Linked DNA regions of Homo sapiens: region 1 is linked to region 2. Evidence: promoter capture Hi-C in 16 types of primary human blood cells and fetal thymus (Javierre and others, 2016). All regions are on one chromosome and are shown on one strand. The core of a region is centred on a gene start or on the middle of the fragment in contact, and the rest is flanking DNA. Distances in the headings are between cores, read along the strand shown.

The links. The method cuts DNA at HindIII sites, captures the fragments that hold promoters and counts their contacts. A CHiCAGO score of 5 or more calls a contact.
Region 1: a fragment that was not itself captured here is called in contact with the fragment with the promoter of RBM45 in region 2 in 1 of 17 cell types (neutrophils); the score reaches 7.6 in neutrophils.

What each region holds. Positions count from the first base shown.
Region 1 is chr2:178,915,328-178,921,802 of GRCh38, forward strand. CCDC141 (coiled-coil domain containing 141) reads right to left here. Exons shown (of 24, transcript NM_173648.4): 7 at 3,386-3,580. It overlaps LOC105373766 (a long non-coding RNA gene), which reads left to right. Exons shown (of 4, transcript XR_001739140.2): 3 at 309-382. Among named protein-coding and RNA genes, the nearest start is that of TTN, 110 kb to the left of the region's middle. The HindIII fragment of the contact is 8,194 bases long and covers 537-6,475 here.
Region 2 is chr2:178,110,923-178,117,383 of GRCh38, forward strand. It overlaps RBM45 (RNA binding motif protein 45), which reads left to right and starts at 1,515. Exons shown (of 10, transcript NM_152945.4): 1 at 1,515-1,924; 2 at 5,340-5,462. The coding sequence starts at 1,625. RefSeq lists an enhancer at 1,551-1,720. The HindIII fragment of the contact is 3,392 bases long and covers 1,091-4,482 here.

The DNA.
Region 1 (6,475 bases), core at 3,384-5,883, 810 kb after region 2:
TATTTATTCTTTTTATTTTAACTAAATTCAAAAAAGTAAAAAGTATATTTAAAAAATCATATATTTCACTTTTTACCAAGCAGATATTCAAGCTATCCCACTCACTCATTTATATATTGCCCATTACACTAACAAATTTGATACATTAGTATTTGACATAGAAATTGAAAAAGTATATTGACATAGCTTCAACGAATTTGGAACAAGAAGTTGTTTGCTGAAAAATAATTCCACTTTTCAAGAATGAAATTGATTTTCAAGGAAAGTACCTTTTTGTAAAGTGCTGACTTCACCTTTTATTCCTGCAGTGCTAACATCCAATTTGCATGTGCCGGGAGAGAAAATTCTTCATGGATCTCTGGTGCTCCTACACATCTCACTGGTAGGTCAAGAATACAAGACTCTGATCCCTTTATATCTGGGCCACTTCTCAGTGTTGGGTCTGCAACTAGCAACCTTCAGGATTGAGGTGATGTTGCCCTTCAAGACAAAGAGCAGGCATGCTTCCTATTTGCTGTAAAACTACAGATTCCCCAAGCTTAGGGTTCCTCTCCTGAACCCCACCTGCTGCAGTTGCATATATCCATCTGGGTCCATCTGCATCACTCAGGGGGATTTGGGGCTGGGAGAATTGATGTGGCATGCTGACACTCTGGCTGCTGCTTTGCTATAATCAATCACCTCTGAGCCAGAGGTCAGGTGTCTTCTGCAATCATCCATGAAACTGTGATAAGTTAACATGTTAGCTTGAATGTAGGGTAAAATCTCAAACCCCTCACAGTTCTTGAGAGCATGACTTCCTCTAAGAACAGGAATGTTCACAATTAGGAAACCCAGTGCACTCAAGGCACAACGAAGTGAATTTTCAAGAGGAAAATTCAGTGTTTCGGAGATAATTCATTATATAAACTGAACATAGCTTTTCACTAGTGTAAACAGAATTTTATTCTAGAAAAAACATTTTAAGGGATTTTGAAATTATATTAATTTTAAAACTTCAGTTCTTTATTTAAACTAGGGCTATAAGTGTCAGGCTAAAAATTGGGTAAAGTGGTCAAATTTTTATAAAATTTGGAGGTTTTACAATATAAATAAAAAAGAAAAATACCATTTATAAGCCACAAGAAGAGTTTTCTTCTTTGAGTAGATTTACACGACATAATTTCATCATTTATTTTACTTAATAATATAGTATAAATAATATAGTTATTTTACTTAATAACATAGTAAAAAATTCATTTCAACAGTCATGATTAAACATCTACATTCCAAACTCCAGCTTCTATTTTTGCTGAGGTAGAAATATCCATCATCTTTCACACTGAGTTCTTAGATTTGGAGTCAGAAATTATTTCCTTGATGCTTTGAAAAGGGAGAAAGGATTCTAACACTATTCTGAGTGCCACTTGTCTATAGAACCTGCTATAGTATGGATAAATCCCAGTGGAGCTTATTATAATTTGTATAGTTAGCATGCCATGGCTTTCAAATGATAAAATGGGGAATCTAGAAATCGAAAGTCTTTGTGATTATGAAACATAAATTCTCTACTCCAATCTGACCTGAATTACTGTATGAGTTTGAGAAAGTAACCACTCTCTTCTTCTTCTTCTTTTTTTTTTTAAAAAAAAGGCTTTTGCAGGAGATATTTCTTCTCTGTTAAAACCCAGAAAAATATCCCAGCAAAGTACAAAATAATGAGAGCAGAGAAAACAAAAGTAAGAGAATGGGAATGAAAGAGAGAAACTACATTTTGCAAGGCTGTAAACTATAGGGTTTGTACTGGAAGCATTGCTTTATAGCAATATGTTTGATAATGGTTTTCCTTAGAAACAATATTAACTGACTTGTAGATGACTCACTCATTTTGAAGAATGAATATGCAGTTTAAATTTAAAAGTCTCTTATTCAAAAACAGAATTACTGAGGAGAAACTTAACTAGCACCTAACATCTAATTAGTTCAATAGCTCCAGTAATATGGTATATCTGTTTCCTCTCTTAAAGAAATCCCAAATGACAAATAATCTGACAATAAATCTTTCTTTAACATTTTACCACAATTTAGCAACTCTGTTTTGAAATTTTACTATTTATTTTTTCAAAAAGTTTCTTATTAGTAAAGAAGTTCAAAATTAAGTCACTATTTTGATATACACCAGGACATTGTATTCAGGGTGTTGATGTTGTGATTTTTAGATCACAATGTACCTAGGTTCCAGGGTTTCCTCATTCATTTCCTGCCACATTGTCCGTTTTGAAAACATCAGTGAAATTTAAGGTATGAAACAATTCTAAAAACACCGTTTGAAGGTGTATATTACATTGGAAAAGGTAGAAAAAATTTTCAAATAAGATCACCAGCCTCTTACACTGAGCCGTACTCAAGTGATGTGAACAGGTGAACATTGCCACTTAGCAGGAACCACCTGCTGCAATCAATGTCCAATGAATCAGAGAGGAGAAGCAGAGCACTCCTCCAACTCAAGACCTGGAGATGGTCCACAGCCAGATTTCACTCTGGCTGACTTAAAAAGGCAAGACCAAGGTGGAACAATCAGGCTAAGGCACTGTTTCTAGCCTTACGGCTTGTGTGCAAAAAGGCTTGCAATATTCATATGTATTTTACCTGGTAAATTAAAGAGGATGAATAAAAGGAGGCCTTCGGTAAAAATTTTAAGGTATTTTTCAGCCTTGATACATTTATGATAATTCTCTTCCTCCATGGGAAACACTATAATGTGGGCACAAGTGTCCCCCCGAAACAGACCAGTGGCAGCTGTAAGATAAAACCCTCATGAGGCTAGGCATGGTGGCTCATGCCTACAATTTCAATATTTTGGGAGGCCAGCGCAGGAGGATCACTTGAGCCCAGGAGTTTGAGGCCAGCCTGCACAACATAGCAAGACCCTGTCTCTACCAAAAAAAAAAAGTAGTCAAGCATGGTGGCATGTGCCTATGATTCCAGCTACGTGGGAGGCTGAGGTGGGACAATCACTTGAGTCCAGGAGGTCGAGGCTGCAGTAAGCTATGATCACGCCACTACACTCCAGCCAGGGTGACAGAGCCAGGCCCTTTCTCAAAACAACAACAAAAACCATCCAATGAACCAAACCAAACCAAACAAAACAAAAAGACAAAAAACCCTCACGAGGTTTGTTTGTTGTTTTTAAAGTCACCTTTTACATGTGAAAACAGTCTTTCAGTTTTGAGAATCAAATAATGGCCATAATAGGAATATATGTTAAAAGCTCTCTTTGCTGCTATCAGTTTTGAAATTTTACATGGCGTTTTGACTTCTGTGATGTGCTCCAGTCAGTTGAAGTAATGGGTCTTTTACTGGTCTGCCTGATTACCGAAAATTATCAACTTGACCTCACACTGACCTTGTTAGCACTGTTAAAAAATTCATTCGCCTTCTTTAACCAGGTATTCCTTTCCACCATGAGTTGACCAAATTCTTCTTGAAGCTGACTGAGTTTCTGGTGAGAGAGCTGGAGGTGTTCTTTCTCCACGTAGTCCTTTGACAGCAGAATTCTCAGTGCCTCACTCTTCAGCTTCTCAACAGCAGAATTCCATTCCTGCAAGAGATTATTCTTATTATTTTATACATCTCCTCTGTTATGGACCGAATGCTTGTGTCCCCCCGAAATTCCTCTGCTGAAATCTAACCCCCAAGGTGATGATATTAGGAAGTAGGGCTTTGGGAGATGATTAGTGACCTTATGAAAGAGGCCTGAGAGGGCTGCCTTGCCCCTTCCACCATGTGAGGATACAGTAAGTTGGCAGTCTGCAACCCAGAAGAGGGTTTTCACCACAACTCTACCGTGCTGGCACCCTGATCTCAAACTTCTCACACCCAGGACAATGAGACATAAATATCTATTGTATACAAGCCATTCAGTCTATGTTACTTTGTTATAGAAACTCAAACTGACAAAGACACCTCTTTTTATAATTTCTGATAAGATTCAGAGAATATTTAGATATGCTGAGTATATCAAAAATCTGCCATTCGATTTTCAAATCATGAAATTGTAGTAAATATTGTAGTGGTAAATGCTTCACTACAGGTTTGAGTACCATGTAGATGTAGTGGGAAAAGACACAGAAAGAGGCTAAAAAGGGAGAGTAGAAAGAGGCAGGAAGTTGGGATGAGTGACTGGCAGAGCTACCAGCTGACCTGAATACAGGTCACTTCCATTTCTGTGAACTCCACCTAAAAATATACCCCCTATACAATGAACAACAGTTTTAAATCTTGAACTCATTTTGTCCGATGTGTATTCATTTAAGTATAAAAACATATCTTTCCCACAATTCAGTCTCACTGTCAATGCAGGTAAATGTGTACAAGAAATGAAGAGAAATCACATGTCTTATGACTGTTGTTTTTGTGTCTGCCTACAATTACAGCTATTAGGTTGGTACAAAGGTAATTGTGGTTTTTGCCATTAAAAGTAATTACCTTTGCACCAACCTAATAAAATGAAGTTCTGTTACTCCTCATAAAATGAATAGCTGTTATTGTTCGGTATTTTCTCCTTCATGATATCGGTTTCACCTCTCAAGGCTTCACTCTTAATGGTATATAGACCTTTCAGAAAATGAAAAGAGGTAGCTTTTTACTTTTTGTTGCATGAGAATGGAAAAACATTAAACAGAATTAAAATATGAGTTGGAGTAAACCAAACATATTTACATTCAATTTATTTGAAGGGAAATTCAAGTTTCTTGCAAAAGTCCTGAAGTCAGACCCACTGTCATAAAAGAATGATTATCTCTAACATGACTGTCTTGTTAGTGAATCTTCTGGTATCCATATAAGCTGCGGTTGAGTGATAGGCATAGGCTACTTGTGAAGCGTGGAAAATTTAGCACAAGATTTCAGAAGTCTCAGTCTGACTCCATCCTGCCTTGTTCTACCAGTACAAAGTATCCTATTATTAAGTTACATTTGTTATATTACATTGTGTAAAATCAGCACAATTTTAGTGCAATTTGCCATTATTGTTTCCATTCATTCATTTTACAAAGTAACTACTATGGTACTACTATGTCCCCAGCACTATGCTAAGACAGATGCCTTGGGGAATATAAAGAAAGAATAAAATGGCTTGTGTGGTGGCTCACGTTTGTAATCCCAGCACTTTGGGAGGCCAAGGCAAGCAGATGGCATGAGCCCAGGAGTTTGAGACCAGCCTGGGCAACATGGCAAAACCCTGTCTCTACAAAAAATGCAAAAAATTAGCTGGGCATAGTGGCGCATGCTTGTAGTTCCAGCTACTCGGTGGGGCTGAGGTAGGAGGATCGCTTGAGACCAGGAAGTTGAGGCTGCAGTGAATTGTGATCATGTCACTGAACTCCATACACACACACACACACACACACACACACACACACTCAATACAATAGTATTTTAAATAACAATTAGCAGATGTTAAGATAGAAACTGTACATATTATTTTGTGGTGTCCATGGAAACTGTTATAGTTTTAGGTGCAAAAGAAAAACATTTTGATCAATGAATACAGGAGTATAAAATGTAGAGTAAGAAATTTGAATTATTTGAAGTATCAGTTATATAAAATTGTGGCTTATAACTATAATCCTCAAAAACCCTTAAATTAGATATTATTATTTTTTCTAGTATTGACATAGGTTCAGAAGAGTATGCTACTCAAGGTTACGTATCCAGTAAGAGGCAGTACCAGGACTAGTTCACAGGTCTTTGTCTCATGCTACCTTCCAGGGAACTGAGGATAGACTCCAAAATCTGCAATTTCTCAGTGCATGCAAAAGCAGCACTCTTAAGCATGGATATGGGCTACGTGAGTTCTCAAGATCTTTCAATTTTTAAAGAGCTATTGTGTCCCCACTTAAGGAAAACTAATATGTGCCAAGATGTTCTTTCATAAAGCACTTTTATTACCGTTACCACTTAAAAACCATTACTTTAACCTACTGGGAATGAGCAAATATTTTTAAAACAGTACAATTTCTGGCACACATAATAGGCACTCACTAAGTGTTAGTCCCACTTTTCTGAGCATCAGTTTTGGTTCATTAGCTCTCCAAATGTGTTCTTTATTTATGGGTATTCCCATTACCCACTTGTAAAATAATGGCAGTGAAATATTTCCCAAAATGTTATTGATTAGTGTTAAGTATTGAACAGTCTTATGAGATGAAACAAAGTAAAACAGGTTTTTTTTTGTGGTTTTCGTTTGTTTTTGTTTTTTTTTACTGCAGTACTTCTTGGCATCTTTAATGTATTAATGTGCATTGAGACTCTCCTAGAGGAAAGTGTGGTGTGGAATATTTTGGGCAAACTCTTTTGATTAATAAACTGTTTGTAGTCATCTCAGGGGACCAATGCTCCAGTTGGAACAATGTTGGGGAAAAACGTTCTATAGCTAAGAGCAGCTGAATCACCAACTGGGTTCACCAGCTCCCACAAGTCTTTCTGTTTCGTT
Region 2 (6,461 bases), core at 265-2,764:
ATCTGGTTGACTTCATAGCAACCTAGGTCTTAGCATCCAGAACTTGTTCATTTGAAGAACTCCGCCCTCGGTCTACTTAGGGGTTTATTCCTTTCACTTCATTCCAATGCCACTGCTAAATCCAGGCCTTGTTTCTGGATTTCTACTGGGTTTCTGACCTCTCCTCTAAGGCTTGTTAACAAGAAGGCATTTCCCACTTTGCTTGCACTCTATGATTTCTCTTAGTTCCACAGCTGAGCAGTCCACCCTCACTGCCCTCCAACCCCAGGGTTGCTTGTAGAAGTTGAGTAAATCAACAGATGGAGTTAGTTCTGGGTTTTTTGTTGTTGTTGTTGTTGTTTGAGGTGGAGTCTCGCTCTATCCCCCAGGCTGGAGTGCAGTGGTGCAAACTCTGCTCACTGCAAGCTGTGCCTCCTGGGTTCACACCATTCTCCTGCCTCAGCCTCCTGAGTAGCTGGGACTACAGGTGCCCGCCACCACGCCAAACTAATTTTTTTGTATTTTTTTGGTAGAGACGGGGTTTCACCGTGTTAGCCAGGATGGTCTCGATCTCCTGACCTCGTGATCCGCCCGCCTCGGCCTCCCAAAGTGCTGGGATCACAGACGTGAGCCACTGCGCCTGGCCAAGTTAGTTCTGGTTTTAGTCGTACTTTTTATCTCTATTACTTTGGCTATGCTATAGGCCTCAGTTTCCTCATCTCTAACAAATGACGCTGAAATTGAATGATCTCAAAGCTTCCTTCCAACTCTAATGCTATATAGTTTGAACTCTGTCCTATATTGATCATCTATTGAGCTTATGACCAAGATGGTGACAACTCTCCACTTTGACCAAAACTTAGTTAGGCTCCTTTGAGTCCTCTGCTTGACTAGGCTTGATCTTGGGCTTTCTGTCCTTGTAGAATCCAATTTGAGCAAGAATCCTGCTGAATCAGTGTAGTGAAAATCCTCATTCTTGGTGTCTGACTACCATGGATATCAATCACCCTGGCCTGCCTTCAGCAACTATCCTGTCAAGTTGGTTTAGCCAGAATCCTCCTTAACACTGATGTTCCCTCTTTGTAATTTTCCATCCACTGACCTCCCACCAAGCTTCTTGGTTAGAAATTTGTCCTTATTAGAGTCAAAATTCAGTCCAATCTCTCTCTCCCACTGCAAGACCCCATTGCAGCTGTCCCTGGACCTATCTCCATGGCTCCCTTTGTCAAAGTCGGCCTTCCTGTACCATCTCTAACGAGTGTCATGAATAATTTTTTCTTTAACACTGGAAAGAATCCTTGGCCTTAGGGGTGGGGTAAAGCCAGCGTTGGGAAAGCCTGTGCATTAGGCAGCGCTGTTCTGCCTGCAGGGAACGATTGCACAACTGATAACTTGGGCCTAGGCTCAGCTGGATTTGAGGATTTGAGACTTAGACTGGGTCAGGGTCCCCCGCGTCGCCAGGGGGCGCTGCAGGCCGCTCCCCGGAAGGCCTCATCCTGCGCGGCTGGACAGCGCCTGGCGCCGGACTCCTCTTTCTCCCGGAAGCGGAGCACCGAGCCGGCAAAGGCTTGGGTGTGAGACAGCAGCGGTGGCAGACACCGCAGAAGCAAAGAGCAGTGAGGCTCCTGCATTCGGGTGGAGCACCATGGACGAAGCTGGCAGCTCTGCGAGCGGCGGGGGCTTCCGCCCGGGCGTGGACAGCCTGGACGAACCGCCCAACAGCCGCATCTTCCTTGTGATCAGCAAGTACACACCTGAGTCGGTGCTGAGGGAGCGCTTCTCGCCTTTTGGCGACATCCAGGACATCTGGGTGGTGCGGGACAAGCACACCAAGGAGTCCAAGGGCATTGCTTTCGTCAAGTTCGCCCGCAGCTCACAGGCCTGCAGGGCCATGGAGGAGATGCATGGCCAGTGCCTCGGCCCCAACGACACCAAGCCCATCAAGGTGCGGGTGCCCGGGTCGGGGTGCCCTCGGGGGAAGGAGTGGGCCTCTTGGACCTCCCTTCACCTGCTGCTCTGCCGGGGTGAGGGAGGAGTGGAACATCCGTTCCCGGCAGCTGACCAGACAGCACCTGGCTTGGGGACAGGGGCTGCTTTGAGGAGAGGCTCCCCTCCCACGAAGCTGCGCCGGGTTGCAGGGAAGGGGACGGGATGCGGAGTGTTTGCCCCACGAGAGCGGACCCGGCAGCCGCGGCCACCGGGTGACAGAACAGCAGTGGCTGGGCTTCCCCTCTCCCTCGCCCTCACTAATCCACCAGCTCTTGAGTTCACTGCCAAACTCGTCCTAGCCTACTTTGAGTACTTTTCTGACCTTCCTCTCTCAGATGCCCAGATTTCCATATATAAAAAACGGAAAAACTCTACTTTTCCTCAGGTACAGATGAGGCGTTAACAACTTGACAGAAGTACTTTAAACTGGGGAGGGACCTCTGGTGTTGGACGTTTTCCTAGTACCAGGCGAAAGAATACATGTACAGAAAGAATAAGTGCAGGTGTTTAAAACGGTCACTGTTACATATTCTTCACATTTTGTTATTTTGGAAAATTGTTTTGAATGAGCTCTGTTTCTGAAAGTGTTAATAGCATACATTTGGTTCTTGACCCTTTCTGTTACTGCAACTTTTCTTTGAAAGCAGACCAAAGTAAACTGCCTTAAGAAGAGCCAAATCATTGTGATAATGACACATGGCAGGAAGGATCATTTTGAGGGTTATTTGACATAATATGTGCTGTCAGCACAGTGCCTCACACAGGGTAAGCCCTCAATAATGTCCTTGTTATTGATCAGTAGTAGCCAAGATGTCACAGCTTACTCCCTGTGATCTCAAATCAGGACTCAATCCTGAGAATCTGGCAATTGCTTAAATTGTAGCCTTCGTCTGCCCCATGTAAATAGTTGCTGTGTATGTTATTCTGTTGGTACTTTGCACAAAAATATTTTCTCAATTTTTTAAAAAATTGTTTTCCAAACTGAGAATGGTATTAATATGGATTTATGTAAATAAAGGGCTCAGAGATATTTCAGTCTCTGGAGGTCTTGCTCCATCCACCAAAGAGAAGGAGCCTGGGACTCTACCAACAACACAGTAAACAGTCCCTTCCTCCCACTTCTCCAACCCTCTGAAGTGTGTCAGAGTGACAGCAACAAAATTAATTGTAGGGCCACAGCATACAGGATCAGGAATTGGCAAACTTTTTCTGTAAAGGGCTGACTAGTAAATATTTTAGGCTTTGCAGGCCACATACAGTCTCTGTCACATAACCTTGTCTGTTTTTACAGTCCTTAAAAACTGTAAAAACAATTATTACATCATGGGCTATACCAAAAATGGAGCTGTGGTTTGCTGACCCCTGTACTAGACTAATGAATTTTATCGCTGTCCAATTATGACCTTAGTGGAGAGGATTTTTATATTTTGAGTGTAACATGGCCACAGAGCCCTTGTGGGCAGCCCAAAAAACTGTCCCATATTTGAAATTGATGGACCACCTTCCCCTGATAAATTTCTATAAGAGAAATTAAAGGCCCAACACCGAAATGTACCCTCTCTTTTAGCCTCAGAGAAATTAAAGATCTTGTTCCCAAAAAGAAATAAACTTTACTATTTTCTTTGTCACATTTTTGACTATTCAGTTTTAGCCAGAAGGTTGTTTCACTGTAGTACCTAGCTAGACAGTCTAGTTTCTGTTTCTTTTTCTTTTTTTGAGACAGAATCTCACTCTGTCACCCAGGCTAGAGTGCAGTGGCTTCTTGATCACAGCTCACTGTAGCCTCCACCTCCCAGACTCAAGCAATCCTCTTGCCTCATCCTCCCTCTCGAGTAGCTGGGACTACAGATGTGCACCACCATGCCCAGCTTATTTTTTTTATTTTTCTTAGAGACAGGGTCTCACTATGTTGCCTAAGCAGGTCTCAAGCTCCTGGACTCAAGTGAGCCTCCCGTTTCATCCTCCCATTACAGTTGTGAGCCACCACACCCTAACAGACTAGTTTCATTCAGCAGCTGCAGCTTGAGCCATCTTCAACTGGAACACTCTTGGGTTGTTTTCAGCATTTCCAGTTAAATTAATTCAGCTTCAATATTTCTATTGTACTTTGCTTTTACAAAGTTTCAGAGGATCTGTAAGACAACAATATTATCTTACCAGCCCTCAGCCAGAAAAGATTGTCCAAGTAAAAGTTATTCTGTGACCAACTATGTTATCTGGCGGAAAGGGGGAAACCTAGAAAACAGAAGAAAAAAATCTTGGCTGTAGTTTTGCAAGAATGCTTCTTATCTAGAGCCTATGAACACTCAGTCTATGAAGGTAAAAATTTATGGGAGAAATCTACCATGAGGAGGTTAATTATTTTACGTATGTTCTACATAGACTGTCTCCTTTATCAGAGATTTGAAACACCTCAGTCCTCTAAAATATAGAAATCTGTGCTCTGATGGCACTTCCAATTTCATCTTACCTGAGGTTCTTTTTTTTTTCTCTAGTGTCTTTGCATATACTTAAAGCTTCCCTATTTGTATTTCCCTATTTACCATTTATTACTGATATCAGCCACAAGACTCTAGTGGGCCATTTCCATGTTACTCAATAGTTGTACTCATATGGTGCTTGACATATAGTATAGATTTATTGAAGGAATAACTAGAAGTAGACTATAAAGGGATATGTCTCTAACACTGTGGTTTTCTTGGTTGCTGCTTCCTACTGTGGAATTTCATAAGTTCCAGTTTTCTCATGCTTTAATGATACAGAGCCCCCTTTACCAGCAGTGGATCAGAGACCAAGATATAGAGACCCCTTTAAAGGAAAAAGAAACAAACAATGCAAGTGCCCTTGTTTATGGTGTTTTAATTAATTGTATTACGTTTCTTCAAATTACTCTGGCTAAAAATAAATGCAAAAGTAGAAATACATTTGGGAAAAACACAATGCAGAGATTGGTATTATCTCATAAAAAAAAGTCATTGCAGGCCCAGCACAGTGGCTCACACCTGTAATCCCAGCACTTTGGAAGGTCAAAGTGGGAGGATCACTTGAGCCCAGGAATTCATGACCATCCTGGACAACATAGCAAGACCTTGTCTCTACAAATATTAAAAAATTAGCTGGGTGTGGTGGTGTGTGCCTGTGGTCCCAGCTACTTGGGAGGCTGAGGTGGGAGGATCACTTGAGCCTAGAATGTTGAGACTGCCGTGAGCCATGATCACACCACTGCACTGCAGCCTGCTTTTTTTTTTCTTTGAGACCCTGTCTCAAAGATTAAAAAAAAGTCATTGCAAGAATAATTGCTTTTGAAAAAATTTAAGAAATGGGAAAATAGTTGACATTATTTTATTTTGGGAGTTTTGTTTGTTTCTTAGGTTTTCATTGCTCAGTCCCGATCATCTGGAAGTCACCGAGATGTTGAAGATGAAGAACTTACAAGAATCTTTGTTATGATACCAAAGTCCTACACAGAAGAAGATCTGCGGGAAAAATTTAAGGTATTTATTCTAATCAGCTAGCATATGTGATAACTCATAGTCCTGCATAGGTTGTATGGGTACTAAATCTGAAATGTTGTTGGAATAAGGTCAATAGAGTAGTCTTGGGGAATTACATAACTGCTTTCATCAATTTCAATCTACTCTTTAAATATTAAACCTAGCATAAATTAGTTTTTAAAATTAAAGAATATATAAAAGCTGGAAAATAGTAATGGTAGTCTCTCCCTACTTTATTGTGAAAGTAGAGATTCGCAGAAATGAAGCATAAAGCTCAGAAACTTTTAAGTAAAGTCACACAACTAGTAGGTGGTAGAGCTATGATTTAAACCCAGGCTGTCGGAGTCTGGAGCCTGCTCTTGGTCTTTAAAATTTCAAAGCACGCTTTTATCACTCCCCTCTATTGCCTGGCATGTAGAGGCGAATCAGGCAGACCTGAGTGTGTGAACTGTATTATCTAGTATTGAGAACGGGCCTATGGTGTGTTGACATGGTACTCATTCACAGAAAGGCTTATTCTTTGAAGAGTTTTTGTCCTAAAATTGGGCCTTTGAAGGAATTATATTTAAAGAAGAAAACGTAAATATAGCTCTGACCTATATAAGTGAAATTTGAGGATAATTTTATGTCTTTTTAGCCATTAACTTATGCAGTGATGAGCTTTCACACAAATTATTAAAAAGCAATTTTTTAATTGTTTTGAATTGTAGTTTTTTATCTTTTTTCTACTAATCCTCCCATGAATTGGGTGGCAACAAGCAAGAAAGAAAACAAGCAGTAAAAAGTAATTTTCAAACTTTCTCTCCTACCCCAATTGAGAATTCAATGAAATACTTCAAAAATAACAAATACCAAAAACGTATATTTTATACATCCTCCAGTAGTAAGGAAAATGTTTTTTACCTTAAATATTTATAAATTTTTCTTTTCCTGAATGAACAAATATAACACTTTAATGTATAGTAATTAAGTTGCTAATTGATTACATAAGAATTTATA